2 separate regions of the Homo sapiens genome follow, and region 2 is linked to region 1. The links are contacts of gene promoters, found by promoter capture Hi-C in human tissues and cell types (Jung and others, 2019). All regions are on one chromosome and are shown on one strand. Each heading gives the region's core, a stretch centred on a gene start or on the middle of the fragment in contact. The rest is flanking DNA. Distances are from core to core; before and after follow the strand shown. Region 1 holds the start of SART1 (spliceosome associated factor 1, recruiter of U4/U6.U5 tri-snRNP). Region 2 has its middle 15 kb from the start of RNASEH2C.

Region 1 (6,450 bases), core at 812-3,311:
AACAGACAAGGTCTGGGCCGGGTATGGTGGGTCATGCCTGTAATCCCAGCACTTTGGGAGGCCGAGGCAGATGGATCACGAGGTCAGAAGTTCAAGACCAGCCTGGCCAAGATGGTGAAACCCCGTCTCTACTAAAAATATAAAAATTAGCCAGGCACGGTGGTGCGCACCTGTAATCCCAGATACTCGGGAGGCTGAGGTAGGAGAATTGCTTGAACCCAGGAGGCAGAGCTTGCAGTGAGCTGAGATCGTGCCACTGCACTCTAGCCTGGGCAATGGAGCAAGACTTTGTCTCAAAAAAACAAAACAAAACAAAAAAAAAACTCTTCCTTTCCTGCATTCCCATCCTGCATCCTACCTTCTCCTTTATCTTAAAGGCTTCTCTCTCCACCTGGGCCATGGATCCCAACCTCTCCAGGCTCCCCAAGGTCACCAGCCTCCTCGTTTCTAAATCTAGTGGGTTCTTTTCGGTTCTGGTTTTGCTTGATCTCCTGTGGTATGTGGGACTGCTGATCGCTCCCTCCTTCTAACAATACTCTCTTCCCAAAGTTCCCATGACACAAAGGTTTTCCTGCCTTTTTGGTTACTCTGTCTCCTTTTTTTGGTAACATCTTTCTCTGCCTACTACTAACATAAGGGCATTTCTCAGGTTCTAGTCCTGACCCCCTCTTCTCATGTCACAGTCTTTCAGGGGCTTCACTGGCCACCCAGATACTGACTCCCAATGGCTTTATCCAGTCCAAACTCTGGATTTCCCCATTACCATCAACCTTGACAACCCCAAAAGTGAACTATCTCCCCCCACCCCCGCTCCAAATCTGCTTCTCTTCCCTACTCCTCAATTTCAGTAGAAATGACACCCACTACCTATCTGGCTGCTCAAGCCAAAATTCAAGGAGTCATCCTCCATTCCTTCTTCCCACCCTCATACAAGTGCTGAGTTCTGTTCATTCCTCCTCCAAAACACCTCTCCAACCTGTCCACTTCTCTCAATCCCACTGCTGCTGCCTTGGTGCAGGCCACCATCAGCCCTCCCCTGGCCTATAGCCCTCCTGGTTTCCTGGTCTCCAGTCCTGACTACCTTTGACTAAATTCTCAATCCAGTGATGTTTACAAAATACGGATCTGAGCAACTCACTCCTCAACTCACATCCATGGCTCCCTACTATCCTCAAGACAATCTACAGTTCTTAACAGAGACTACAGTACAGGGTCCTTTGTGTTCACATCCCTGTCTATCTTACTCCCTCATTTCTCTACCATGCGCCCTACACGATTCGTCCAATACCAGGTTTTTCTTGCCTCTGTATATGCTGACACTACTTCATTCACTCATTCAACATATTTATTGAGAATCTGATTGTACCAGACAACTGAGGAAAACAGAAGCCCTCTGTCCTCAAGCAGCTGAGTGGAGAAAGTCAACCTCTAATCCTAAACAACCGTAGAAAGACTTTTTTCTTTTTGAGACAGAGTCTCGCTTTGTTGCCCAGGCTGGAGTACACTGGCGGGACCGCAGCTCACTGCAGCCTCTAACTCCTGGGCTCAAGGGATCCCGTAGAAAGACTATTTAATAGAGCTGGTAAACAGCTTGGGGGTTTCCTGGCCTGAAGAGCTTCGCTGACACTGCGCGCACACCCAGACCCACGCGTTCCGGGACCCCCGCCCGACCCGCCCCCTGCGCAGGCCCCGCCTCCTCACCGGCCTCGTAGCCGTCATCGCGCTTCTCCCGCTTCACGCGCCGCTCGGAGGGCTCTGCCTGGCTGCGCTCCCGCCCGTGCGTGCTGCTCCGGGCCTCAGCTTCGGCCCCGCGCCGCCCGCTCCCGCGCTCGCCCCCACGTTCCCGGCTCCGCTTCCGTCGTTCGCCACCGCTACCGCCACTGCCGCCACTCCGGTGCTTGTGTTTTTTGTGTTCCCGGTGCCGCGGCGGCTGCTCGGTGGCACCCCCGGTGCCGGCCGCCGCCGTCGTCCCGGCCGCCTCCTTCTCTCCGCGATGCTTCTTGGACGACCCCATAGTGGCACGTCCACTCCGAGCCCGGCTGCCGCCGAGCCCAGACAACGCAAAATGGGAATACTTCCGGGTCGCTCGGCAGCCGCTGTCGTGTTGCCGGAAACTAAGAGCGGCTGCTTCCGTCGCTCGCCTTGGAGCCTGCCCCAGAGGCTCATGGGAAGGCCGGGATCAGCGCTCGACTGCACATTCGCGCCGTCTCGGGTCGGGTGGGTTCTTTGAGCGAGTGGTCCCATTGCGCATGCGCTCCTCAAGGGAAGCGGAATTAACCCGGAGGTGGGATCCCAGAACTGGAAGGACTTAGAGCCCATTAAGTCAGTGTCTTCGTGGCTTTAAGTTCCTCCCCGGCCTCCCTGCGCTTGCACTTCACCGGCAACGGGGTGTTCACTACCTCACGGTCTTTCCGTAGACACCTCCCTCCTACAATGGGCGCTCGCTTAGTGGACTCCTAGGGTCGTGGCTCCAACGGGTGTTGTTTTCCCGAGATCTCCAATTCCACAGCCCAGCTTCAGACCCGCTATAACCAGTATCGTCAGGGAACGCTTCCTTCCCACGTTCCCTGTTTTGTTTTGTTTTGTTTTTTCCCTTGAGATAGGATCTCACTCTGTTGCTCAGGCTGGAGTGCAGTGGCGTGATCACAGCGCACTGCAGCCTCGACCTCCTGGGCTCAAGTGATCCTCCCACCTCAGCCTTCCCAGTAGCTGGGACTACGAGAGTACGCTACCACGCCCCTTTAATTTTTGTATTTTTTTGTAGATGGTTGGTGGGGAGCGGGGGTAGGGGGTGGGGTCACTATGTTGGCCAGGCTGGTCTCGAACTCCTGAGCTCAGGCTATACACCCGCCTTGGCCTCCCAAAGTGCTGAGATTACAGGCATGCGCCACTGCGCCTGGCCCTGGATTGGATTTTTAAAACCTGGCCCCGTGAACTGTTAAGATTGTTTAGGAGCTCCACATGGGCGTCAGTGTATCCCTGGAACCCCTGAAATTGAATGCAAAATGTGGCACATCTGTGTGTATGAGTTTTTTTCTTGAGGAGACCAGCCCTAACTTAAAACTATTGGGACTTAAAACCCCAGTGCAGGCCGGGCGCGGTGGCTCACGCCTGTAATCCCAGCACTTTGGGAGGCCAAGGCAGGCGAATCACGAGGTCAAGAGATCGAGACCATCCTGGCCTACATGGTAAAACCCCGTCTCTACTAAAAATACAAAAATTAGCTGGGTGTGGTGGCGCACACCTGTAGTCCCAGCTACTCAGGAGGCTGAGGCAGGAGAATCGCTTGAACCTGGGAGGCAGAGGTTGCAGTGAGTTGAGATCACACCATTGCACTCCGGCCTGGTGACAGAGCGAGACTCTGTCTTAAAAAAAAAAAAAAAAAGCGCAGTGCACACAATCCCAATCTCTCCTGAAACCCCTCCCCTCACCCAGTGGTTGCTCAGTCTGTGGCTCCCTGTGTGGCACAACTCAGCATGTGTTAGGCTATGTTGTATGCGCCCCTTTAAGGATCCACCCCCTCTCCCACTCACTGGGCGTCCTCAGAGGCAGGAGTCATTTCATCTTATTCATGCTTGAATTTATAGGACCCAACATATACATTGGAGATGGGGTGGAGAAGTCACAGCTCTTGCTCTTTGAGATGTCCCCACTCCTCAGGAGCAGAGAAGGGGCTGTGTGTACTGGGTGGGGGGAACCAAAAGAGCCAAAGCTCCTGGTGGGGAGGGGGTGCGGGGACAGAGCTAAGCCTGCTGCCCACCCACCTGCCACCTCCAACTTCCAACCCGTAGCTTCCACCACCCCCACCACCAGAAATCTCATACTGTGTTTGCCATAAAGCCTTTAATTTTATCTCAGGGACTGCACTCCGGGTCCAGGCTGGGGTTGTAGTGCCTGTCAGGCTGGCTGCCGGTGGGTTCTGTCCTTGGGGGCCTCTGAGGAGAGTGCTCCATTCTCACCCCCATTGACCTGTGGCTCCTTCAAGACACAGATAGAGGCCCCTGACTCTGCAGCTCCCACCCCCATGCCCAAGGAAACCACTGACAATGTGGCTTCAAACCCTGCTTCAGTGCCGGCTTGCTGTGTGATCCTGGGCAAAGTGACTCTTCTCGAGTCTCACTTTCCTTATTGTCAAGTGGGCTTCATAATCGCTGCTCTGTACCAGGTTATTCTAAGGCATGGGGTGACCAGCGTGGTGGTGCCAGCCCCTAATGAGGGACTTGGTGTGTGGCCGCTCAGATGGTTGCAGAGTCCCAGACTGGTTCTGCTGCTTGTTCGCTCCTGCGTCCTTAAAGAAGGCCCTTCCCCTCAGGTCCTTAGTTTCCTCATTGAGAAGTAGGAATGACAACCCTGGCCTTGCCTTCCTCTGGGCTCTCTGCCTGTCCTGGGGGAGGCCCTCCAGAGCCCAGAGTGCTGGTGTGGGCGCCCCTTCCCGCAGCAGCATGGCAGAGTCAGTTCTTGACCTGACGGGGAGACTCACCTGGGTTTCCTGGGGGTGCCCTCTCTGTCCACCTTTCCTGCCTCAGACAGCAGCTGCTCCTCATCCAGCCCCAGTGCTGACAGCACCTGGGAGAAGCGCCGAGTGACGGTGAGCCGGGCATTGGCCTGAGGAGAGAGAAGACGGCTTCCTGCTCTGCACCAGGGCTGCCGAGGGCAAGGTGGGGATCGGGTTACTGAGGGGGTCCCAGGGATTCCAGAGGGCAGCAGCCCTGGGATCCTATCTGCAGGGACCTACTCGCATCCTGCTTCCCTACCCACTCAGCCAGCTCTTCACAGGGGGCAGCTATGTGCTTGCCCAGGTGCCAGCCTCACCTGCATAGCCTGCTGGAACAGGAAGGGCCGGGCCTGCACCCTGTGCTGGATGCCTTGCAGCTCCGCCTGGTACTCAGCAAAGCGCTGTCGCTCCTGGCGCCTGCAGGGGAGACAGGCCTTTGTGCAGCTAACCATGGACACAACTGTTGATCTCCATTCCTGAGCCCGCTTATCTTCACTAAGGACTTGATATTCATGTCCTCACCCTCACCTTTACAAAGCTATTTCATTCCCATTCTTGCCTGGATTCCTTGTGAAGTCAGCCAAGGTGGAAATTATTCACCCAATTTACGGATGGATCGGGAGGGTTGAGGGACTTGTTCAAAGTTGTGCAGCTGGGAAGTGAGGGGCCGAGCCCTGTGCAGCTGGGGCTTGCCCATCCTCCTGTGCCAGCCCCATGGGAAAGGGGCCAGTGCTGGCTTCTGAGCTTCCAGACACGTGCTTACATAGCTTCCCCTCCCCATCCTCTTTCCCTTGAGGGGGAGCTGTGGTTGTTGGTTGTGTGACTTTGGGTGAGGCCTCTCTCTGGGCTCTTGGCTCTGGGCTCAGTTTATTTCACTGTGCTATAGTAGGGATCGGACAAGCTTGCCAGCATTCTCTGTGGTTCTTGTAAGCAGACAGCTTGGAAAATGGGACAGAGAAACTAAAAAAAAATATGTTTCAAATTTAAAAAACACACCCCTGAGAGATCAGGGTTCCACTGGGGAAGCACAATTTTCATTTATAAAAACCCAATTTGGCCAGGCGTGGTGGCTCGCACCTGTAATCCCAGCACTTTGGAAGGCCAAGGAGGGTGGATCACTTGAGCCCAAGAGTTTGAGACCAGACTGGGCAACATGGTGAAATCCTGTCTCTACAAAAATTAGCCAGACATGGTGGTATGCACCTGTAGTCCTGGGTAGTTGGGAGGCCAAGGTGGGAGGATCGCTTGAGCCTCGGAGGTCTAGGCTACAGTGAGCTGAGATTGTGCCACTGCACTCCAGCCTGGGCAACAGAGCAAGACCCTGTCTCAAAAAACCCAAAACCCAGTTTGTGCACTTGTCAGAAATGTGTCTGTTTGACAAACTTGAGTATCACTGCCACTCATGAAGAGAGCACTCTAGCAGCAAGAGGGACCTTCGAGCCACACCCACATGGGACCAGGCATCCATCTGTGAAGCATGTAAGAGAGGCCTTGAGGTGTGGAGGCAGCACCCATGGACAGGAGGGGAGGGAAGACGCAGACAAGAGGACAGGAGGGGAGGGGAGACACAGACAAGACCCCAAGACCTGTACTGGGACCTCAGCGATTGTGCTGGGCCCGGTGGAAAAACTCAGCCTTGCTGGGCCATGCCACCCTTGCTGTGGCCCTGTGCCAGGGAAGGAACCATCCTTCATTGAGAAAAAGACATGGACTTGAAAACCCATGGCCCGGAACACAAGTTACTGCAAAAACGGCTTTCACCATTTAGGAAGGAATTTATGGCAGTTACAAGGGGAGGTGGGAAATGAGCTGGCAGTCCCTATCTTTTCTGTGATATTGTGTGCACTTTTCCTGCTGGATACTTTATGCTATTTCTGTTAGAAGTGACAGGAGCTGGCCGAGGCGGGCAGATCTCGAGGTCAGGAGATCGAGACCATCCTGGCCAACATGGTGAA
Region 2 (7,201 bases), core at 1,434-3,933, 230 kb after region 1:
TTCCTGGAGTCTCCTCAGTCCCCCAGTTCTGAGGAAGTCCACCCCAAGTTTATCAGGCACCCTTATCCAACTAGCCCCAGCCCATATTCCTCACTTCCCAAGGTAGTAAGCCCAACCAGTACCACCAGGAGTGGGGCCCCATATTAGCCTCCAAAATAAAACTTGTGTCCATTGTAGGAGGTAACCGATGGAAATGGGGTGATACTTAGAATACATGTTCCATTTTCTATGTCAGATTTGGCTTTATGCAAAAAATTTGGCCAGTTTTCAGAAAATCTAGAAAAGTTTATAGAAGAATTGGTTGACAATTTTTTAAATTTAACTTGCCGTGACTTGCAAGTATTGTTGTCTCCCTGCTGTGCCATGCCGGAAAAAAAAGTGGAGGAAAAAGTGTGTAGTTAAGCCAGCCAATTATGACAAAGTTAGAGAAATAACTCAGGGAAAAGATGAAAATCCCACTCTGTTTCAAAGTTGTTTGGTTGAGGCACTCAGGAAATACACTAACGCAGACCCAGACTTCCCAGAAGGCAAACTCTTCTGGTTATGCATTTTATTACTCAAGTTGCCCCTGACATTAGGAGGAAGCTACAAAAAGCAACAATGGAAGCTCAAACCCCTATGAGCCAATATTTAAACTTGGCCTTTAAAATTTACAACAATAGGGACAGGGAAAAAGAGTTGAAAAAAAAAAGACAAAAGAAACAGCTCTAGCCCAGGCAACATGATGAAACTCTGTCTCTACTAAAAATACAAAAAATTCGCTGTGCATGGTGGTGTATGCCTGTGGTCCTAGATACTGAGGAGGCTGAGGTGGGAGAATCACCTGAGCCCAGGAGGTTGAGGCTGCAGTAAGCTGAGATAATGCACTGCAACTCCAGCCTGGGCAACTGGAGTGAGACCCTGTCTCAAAAAAGAAAAGAAATAGCCAAAAAGTGCAATTGTTAGCTGTTACTTTAAGTCCCCTGCCACCTTAGAATTACCTATCCTGAGAAAGTGTCACAAGATCACCATCTGGGATGCCCAGATGAGAGCCCCCAACTCACTGGCTCCTGGTCCAGAATCAATGTGCCTACTATAAGCAAAAGGACCATTCACAATGAGAATGTCCTAACCATCCCCAGCAAACGAGGGAAAAAGCTCCCCGTCAATATTAGAACTAACCTTCTTCCATATGTCCCAATGAGCCACCTTGCTCAAGTAAATTTACTCAGATTCCTGGACCCTTGACCCAATGGACAGCTTTTTGCAGTGGAAGACAAGTGGCCACCAGAACATTTTTCTTTGGTGTCTCCACTGCTAGATGCTCTGGTAGCTCAAGGACTCTGAGACCTCCCCTTGAGCAACATGGTTTACCACCTCCCTTCCTTATTTGATGCTATGGGGTCCCTTCTCTGCCTCTTCCTGTCTTCCCTACGTATCTGGGCAAACAAAATGTATTGAGATAGACAGGTCCCAATTTTATAAGTAACTTGGATCCATCTGTCTTGTGTAGGTCACTTCATTTGTGTGATGGGTGTTGTGTTTAGCATACTATCAAATTGGCTTATAAATAAAAGAGAATTCATAAATTAAAAAATAAGACTAGTCTAAATTTATTAGTTTGAAGGGAATGTTATGTCTTCTAAAATTTAACTTTAAGATTTTTACCTAGATGAACCTCTGATGTTTGTAGCCTTTAGAATGGTTAGGATGGCTTTTAAACAGTGAGCTTATGTATAGTTGAAAATCTTAAAGCTGTGAAATAGTTCTCATCTATAGAGTGCCAATGTCTGATGAGCAGTTCAGAATTTCTTGCTCTTTAGATTTATATAAAATAAGCCAAAGAAAGTGTGTTTTTTATTGGGAAAAATAATAATTTTTGTCTAATTTGGAAGTTATTAAAAGAGAGGTTCAAAATATGAAGGAACCAGTAAGTAGAAAAGAGAGATATGAAGAAAGTTATGGATAGATGTACTTTTTGCAAGGAAGAATACAAAGAAGGATACAAGGAAGGATATAAAGAAGGATACAAGGAAGAATACAAAGTTATTTTATATGAGGAGGGATCTTGTGTAGTAAATTCTTATCCTAGAGTAAAATGATGAGTTCTTTAAGGAAGGGGTCCTATAGGACAAGTCAGAAAGTCCAAGCATGTTGTAGATGGTCCATGTGGGTCATGATGGGGTTTGTGAAGGGGAATTTTGTGTATGATTAAGCTTAAGCTGACTATGACTAAAGGAAAACTGTGGTAGACTTTCTAGAGAATGGTCTATATATTGGCAACAGGTTTTCTTAAGGTATTGATTTGCTAAATTACAGGAAGTTTTGCTTTTAATAATCTACCTGGTTTATTTTAAAATGTCTTGGATTCATGTCTCAGAGATTCAACTGTTGTTGTGTCTCACTACTTTCAATTCTTTCTCCCTTTAAGAAGGCCTGGGATGATGGCTCTTTCCATCAACCTTTTCATCAACATTGTGACTTTTTTTCCTCTGGTTCTGACTATTGGGCCCTGGTACTAAAATGTTTTGTCTTAGAGGTCTGCGAAAACAGTGTTTTCCCCGAATATAGCTTGATTCTATGCTGTTTTTTTTTTTTTTTTACATATAACCTTATTATTGGCATTTAGTTTTTGACTCTTATATTGCTTTAAAAGATTTTAAGGGCAAATGAGTGCCTGCTCACCTCCATTTCCTTCTGACCTAGGATGTTTAATTGGCTATAAGTCTTTTGACTCTAAGTCCCTTAGCCAAAGGGAATTCCAAAGAAGCCTTCAAAAAAAAAGAAGTCAGACCATGACAGGAAACAGGGGGCCAAACATGCCTCACTGTGCCACCCCTTAGAATTTAGGCTAGGCACAAAGGCCCTTCAAAAATTATAATAACAAAGTACTTCCCTTTCCCACATAGGAAAGAAATAGCTCCTCTGTTCAACCTGAACACCTAGTCTTACAAAAAACTTTTTGTTAAAAAGGATCCCCAGAGGATCAATTACAACCCAAATGGAAGAGCCCCTATCAGGTATTGTTAAGTACCTTCCCTGCTGTTAAACTTCAGGGAATCACTAGTTGGGTACACCTGTCCAAGATTAAATCTGTTTCTTATGAATCCCTGACGGCATAAGAGGAGGACACCATGATTTACACCTGTGAGCTCCTATAAGACTTAAAGCTGTTGTTTCACAAACACAAAGATAAAAAACATGATGCCATGGGCATAGATGCATTAATTTTCTCATCCTCCAAATTATAATTTTCCTGTTGACCTCCTACTTAAGTTTATGTCTTCTAGATTCCACATAAAGATGATGCTGGCACAAGGTTTCAACCCATCCCATCTTATGACCTGAAAAATGAAAATATCCTGTTGGACCCCTTAGATCAGGTATCCAGAGATTACCAGAGGCTAGGGGCATGGGAGAGTGGGAAATGGGAAGATATTGCTCAAAAGGTACAAAGTTTCAGTTAGACAGGTATATTAGAGTTCTCTAAAGGGACAGAACTAATAGGATAGATGTATATATGAAGGGGAGTTTATTGAGGAGTAATGATTCACATGATCACAAGGTGAAGTCCCACAATAGGCTGTCTGCAAGCTGAGGATCAGGGAAGCCAGTCCAAGACCCAAAACCTCAAAAGTAGGGAAGCCAACAGTGCAGCCTTCAGTCTGTGAACAAAGGCCCGAGAGCTGCAAACCACTGGTGTAAGTCCAAGAGTCCAAAAGCTGAAGAACTTGGAGTCTGATGTTCGAGGGCAGGAAACATCCAGCAAGGGAGAAAGATGAAAGCCGGAAGGCTCAGCAAGTCAAGTCCTTCCATGTTCTTCTGCCTGTTTTAATCTAGCTGTGCTGGCAGCTGATTAGATGGTGCCACGCCAGACTAAGGGTGGGTCTGCTTCTCCCAGTCCACTGACTCAAATGTTAATCTCCTTTGGCAACACCCTCACAGACACACCCAGGAACAATACTTTGCATTCTACAACATTTTTATATTACTGTATTGTATTAGAGATGGGGTCTTACTCTGCCACCCAGGCTGGAGTGTAGTGGCACAATCATGGCTCACTGTAGTCTTGAACTCCTGGGCTCAAGTGATCCTCCTGCATCAGCCTCTCCAGTAGCTGGAGCTACAGGTGTGCATCACCACACCTGACTAATTTTTTTTGGGGGGGTAGAGATGGGGTCTCACTATGTTGCCCAGGCTGGTCTGAAACTATTGGCCTCAAGAAATCCTCTCACAGCTGGGTGCAGTGGCTCACACCTATAATCCCAGCACTTTGGGAGGCCAAGGTGGGTGGATCATGAGGTCAAGAGATTGAGACCATCCTGGCCAACATGGTGAAACCCCGTCTCTATTAAAAATACAAAAATTAGCTGGGTGTGGTGGCACGTGCCTATAGTCCCAGCTACTCAGGAAACTGAGGCAGGAGACTCGCTTGAACCCAGGAGGTGGAGGTTGCAGTGAGCCAAGATCACGCCACTGCACTCCAGCCTGGCAACAGAGCAAGACTCCATCTCAAAAAAAAAAAAAAGAAAAAGAAATCCTCTCATGTTAGCCTCCCAAAGCACTGGGATTACAGGCATGAGCCACTGCAGCTGGCTATGAGGTGGACAGTTTTAGATCTTGCATATAAGTGAGATCATGTGGTATTTGTCTCTCTGTGCCTGGCTTATTTCACTGAACATAATGTTCTCCAGGTTAATCCCTGTTGTGGCAAATAATAGAATTTCCTTTTTTTTTTTTTTTTTTTTGACGCAGTTTCACTCTGCCTCCCAAGCTGGAGTGCAGTGGTATGGTCTTGGCTCACTGCAACGTCTACCTCCTGGTTCAAGTGATTCTCGTGCCTCAACCTCCTGAGTAGCTGGGATTACAGGTGCGCACCACCATGCCCAGCTAATTTTTGTATTTTTAGTACAGACAGAGTTTCACCAAGTTGGCCAGGCTGGTCTCAAACTCCTGACCTCAAGTGATCCGCCCACCTCGGCTTCCCAAAGTGCTGGGATTATAGGCATGAGCCACCGCGTCCAGCCAGAATTCCCTTTTTACGAAAAAAAAAAAAAGGCTGAATAGTATTCTGTTTTTTATATACACCACACTTTCCTTATTCTTTCATCCACCAGTGGACACATAGGTTGATTCCATATCTTGGCTATTGTGAATAATGCTGTGATGAATATGAGATTGTAGATGTCTCTTCAACATATTCATTTCAGTTCCTTTAAATATATACCCAACAATGGGATTGCTGGATCATATGGTAGTTCTATTTTGAGTTTTTTAGGAACCTTCATACTCTTTTATATAAGGGCTGCACTAATTTACATTTCTACCAACAGTGTACAAGAGTGCCCTTCTCTCCACATCCTCGCCAACACTTTTTCTTTCATCTTTTTATTTTCTTATTTTCTTATTTTTATTTATTTGTTTGTTTTTTTGAGAAGCAGTTTCACCCTGTCGCCCAGGCTGGAGTGCAGTAGTGAGATCTCCGCTCACTTCAACCTCCGCCTCCCGGGTTCAAGTGATTCTCCTGCATTAGCCTCCCAAGTAGCTGGGACTACAGGTGTGCATCACCATGCCAGGCTAATTTTTTTTTTTTTTAATTTTTAGTAGAGATGGGTTTTCACCATGTTGGTCAGGCTGGTCTAGAACTCCTGACCTCAGGTGATCTGCTTGCCTTGGCCTCCCAGAATGCTAGGATTATAGGCATGAGCCACCATGCCCAGCCTCATCTTTTTAATAATAGCCATTCTAACACATGTGAGGTGATATCTCATTGTGGTTTGCATTTCCCTAATGATTAGTCACGTTGAGCATTTTTTCATATACCTTTGGCCATTCATATGTATTTTGAGAAATGTCTGTTCAGGTCCTTTGCCCATTAATTCACTGGGTTATTTGTTTTCTTGCCATTGAGTTGTTTGAGTTATATATTTTGGATATTAACTGCTTATCAGATATATGGTTTGCAAATATTTTCTCCCATTCTGTTTTTGTCTCCACTCTGTTAATTGATTCCTTTGCTGCCCAGAGGCTTTTTAGTTTGATATCATCCCATTTGTCTATTTTTGCTTTTGTTGCCTGTGCTTTCAGGGTCATTTTCAAAAATTCATTGCTCAGACCAATGTCATAGATCTTTTCCTCTATGTTTTTTCTAGTAGTTTTACAGTTTGTTTTATATTTAAGTCTTTAATCCATTTTGAGTTGATTTTTGTATATAGTGTAAGATAAGAGTCTAGTTTCATCTTCTGCATTCTCAATACCATTTATTAAAGAGAGTATCCTTTTCAAATTGTATATTCTTGGCATCTTTGTCAAAAATCAATTTGCCATAAATGTATGGGTTTATTTTGGGGGCATTATATCCTGTTCCATGTGTTGATATATCTTTTTTTTAATGGCAGTACCATGCTATTTTGATTACAGTAACTTTATAATATATTTTGAAATCAGGGAGTATGATGCCTCCAGATTTGTTATTTTGCTCAGGATTGCTTTGACTGTTTGGGGTCTTTTGTGGTTCCATGTGGACTTGAGGATTGTTTTTTCTTTTTTATAAAAAAAGACTTTGGAATTTTGATAAGGATTGCATTGATTCTGTGGATTTGGGTAGTTTGGTTACTATGGACATTTTAACAATACTAATTATTCCAATCCATGAACATGGGATATCTTTGCATTTATATGTGTTTCCTTCCATTTCTTTTTTTTTTTTTTTTTGAGATGGAGTTTCACTCTGTTACCCAGGCTGGAGTGCAGCGGCACGATCTCAGCTCACTGCAACCTCCACCTCCTGAGTTCAAGTGATTCTTCTGCCTCAGCCTCCTGAGTAGCCAGGACCACACGCATGCGCCACCATGCCCGGCTACTTTTTGTATTTTTAGTAGAGACAGGGTTTCAGCATATTAGAAAGGCTGGTCTCGAACTTCTGACCTCGTGATCCGCCCACCTGGCCCTCGCAAAGTGTTGGGATTACAGGCATGAGCCACCGTGCCCAGCCTCCTTCCATTTCTTTCATCAGTGTTTTATAGTTTTCGGTATACAGACCCTTCCCCTTCTAACAGCAAAAGCATTTGACAAAATTCAACACCTTTTCATGATAAAAATAAACACTCAACAAACTAGAAATAGAAGTATACACCCTCACCATAATAAAAAGCCATATATAAAACACCCACAGTGAACACCATACTCAATGGTGAAACATTGAAAACATTTCCTCTAATAT

The links. Contacts are between HindIII fragments. The study calls those that stand out against the background at their distance.
Region 2: a contact is called between a fragment that was not itself captured here and the fragment with the promoter of SART1 in region 1, in 6 of the 25 tissues and cell types used here (IMR-90 fibroblasts, adrenal gland, aorta and 3 more).

What each region holds. Positions count from the first base shown.
Region 1 is chr11:65,957,345-65,963,794 of GRCh38, reverse strand. It overlaps SART1 (spliceosome associated factor 1, recruiter of U4/U6.U5 tri-snRNP), which reads right to left and starts at 2,061. Exons shown (of 20, transcript NM_005146.5): 1 at 1,702-2,061. The coding sequence starts at 2,014. TSGA10IP (testis specific 10 interacting protein) reads right to left here. Exons shown (of 8, transcript NM_152762.3): 6 at 4,813-4,912; 7 at 4,481-4,605; 8 at 3,829-3,978. The coding sequence ends at 3,855. RefSeq lists an enhancer at 1,416-2,203. The HindIII fragment of the contact is 22,503 bases long and covers 1-6,450 here.
Region 2 is chr11:65,731,963-65,739,163 of GRCh38, reverse strand. No RefSeq gene overlaps it. Among named protein-coding and RNA genes, the nearest start is that of RNASEH2C, 15 kb to the right of the region's middle. The HindIII fragment of the contact is 9,114 bases long and covers 1-7,201 here.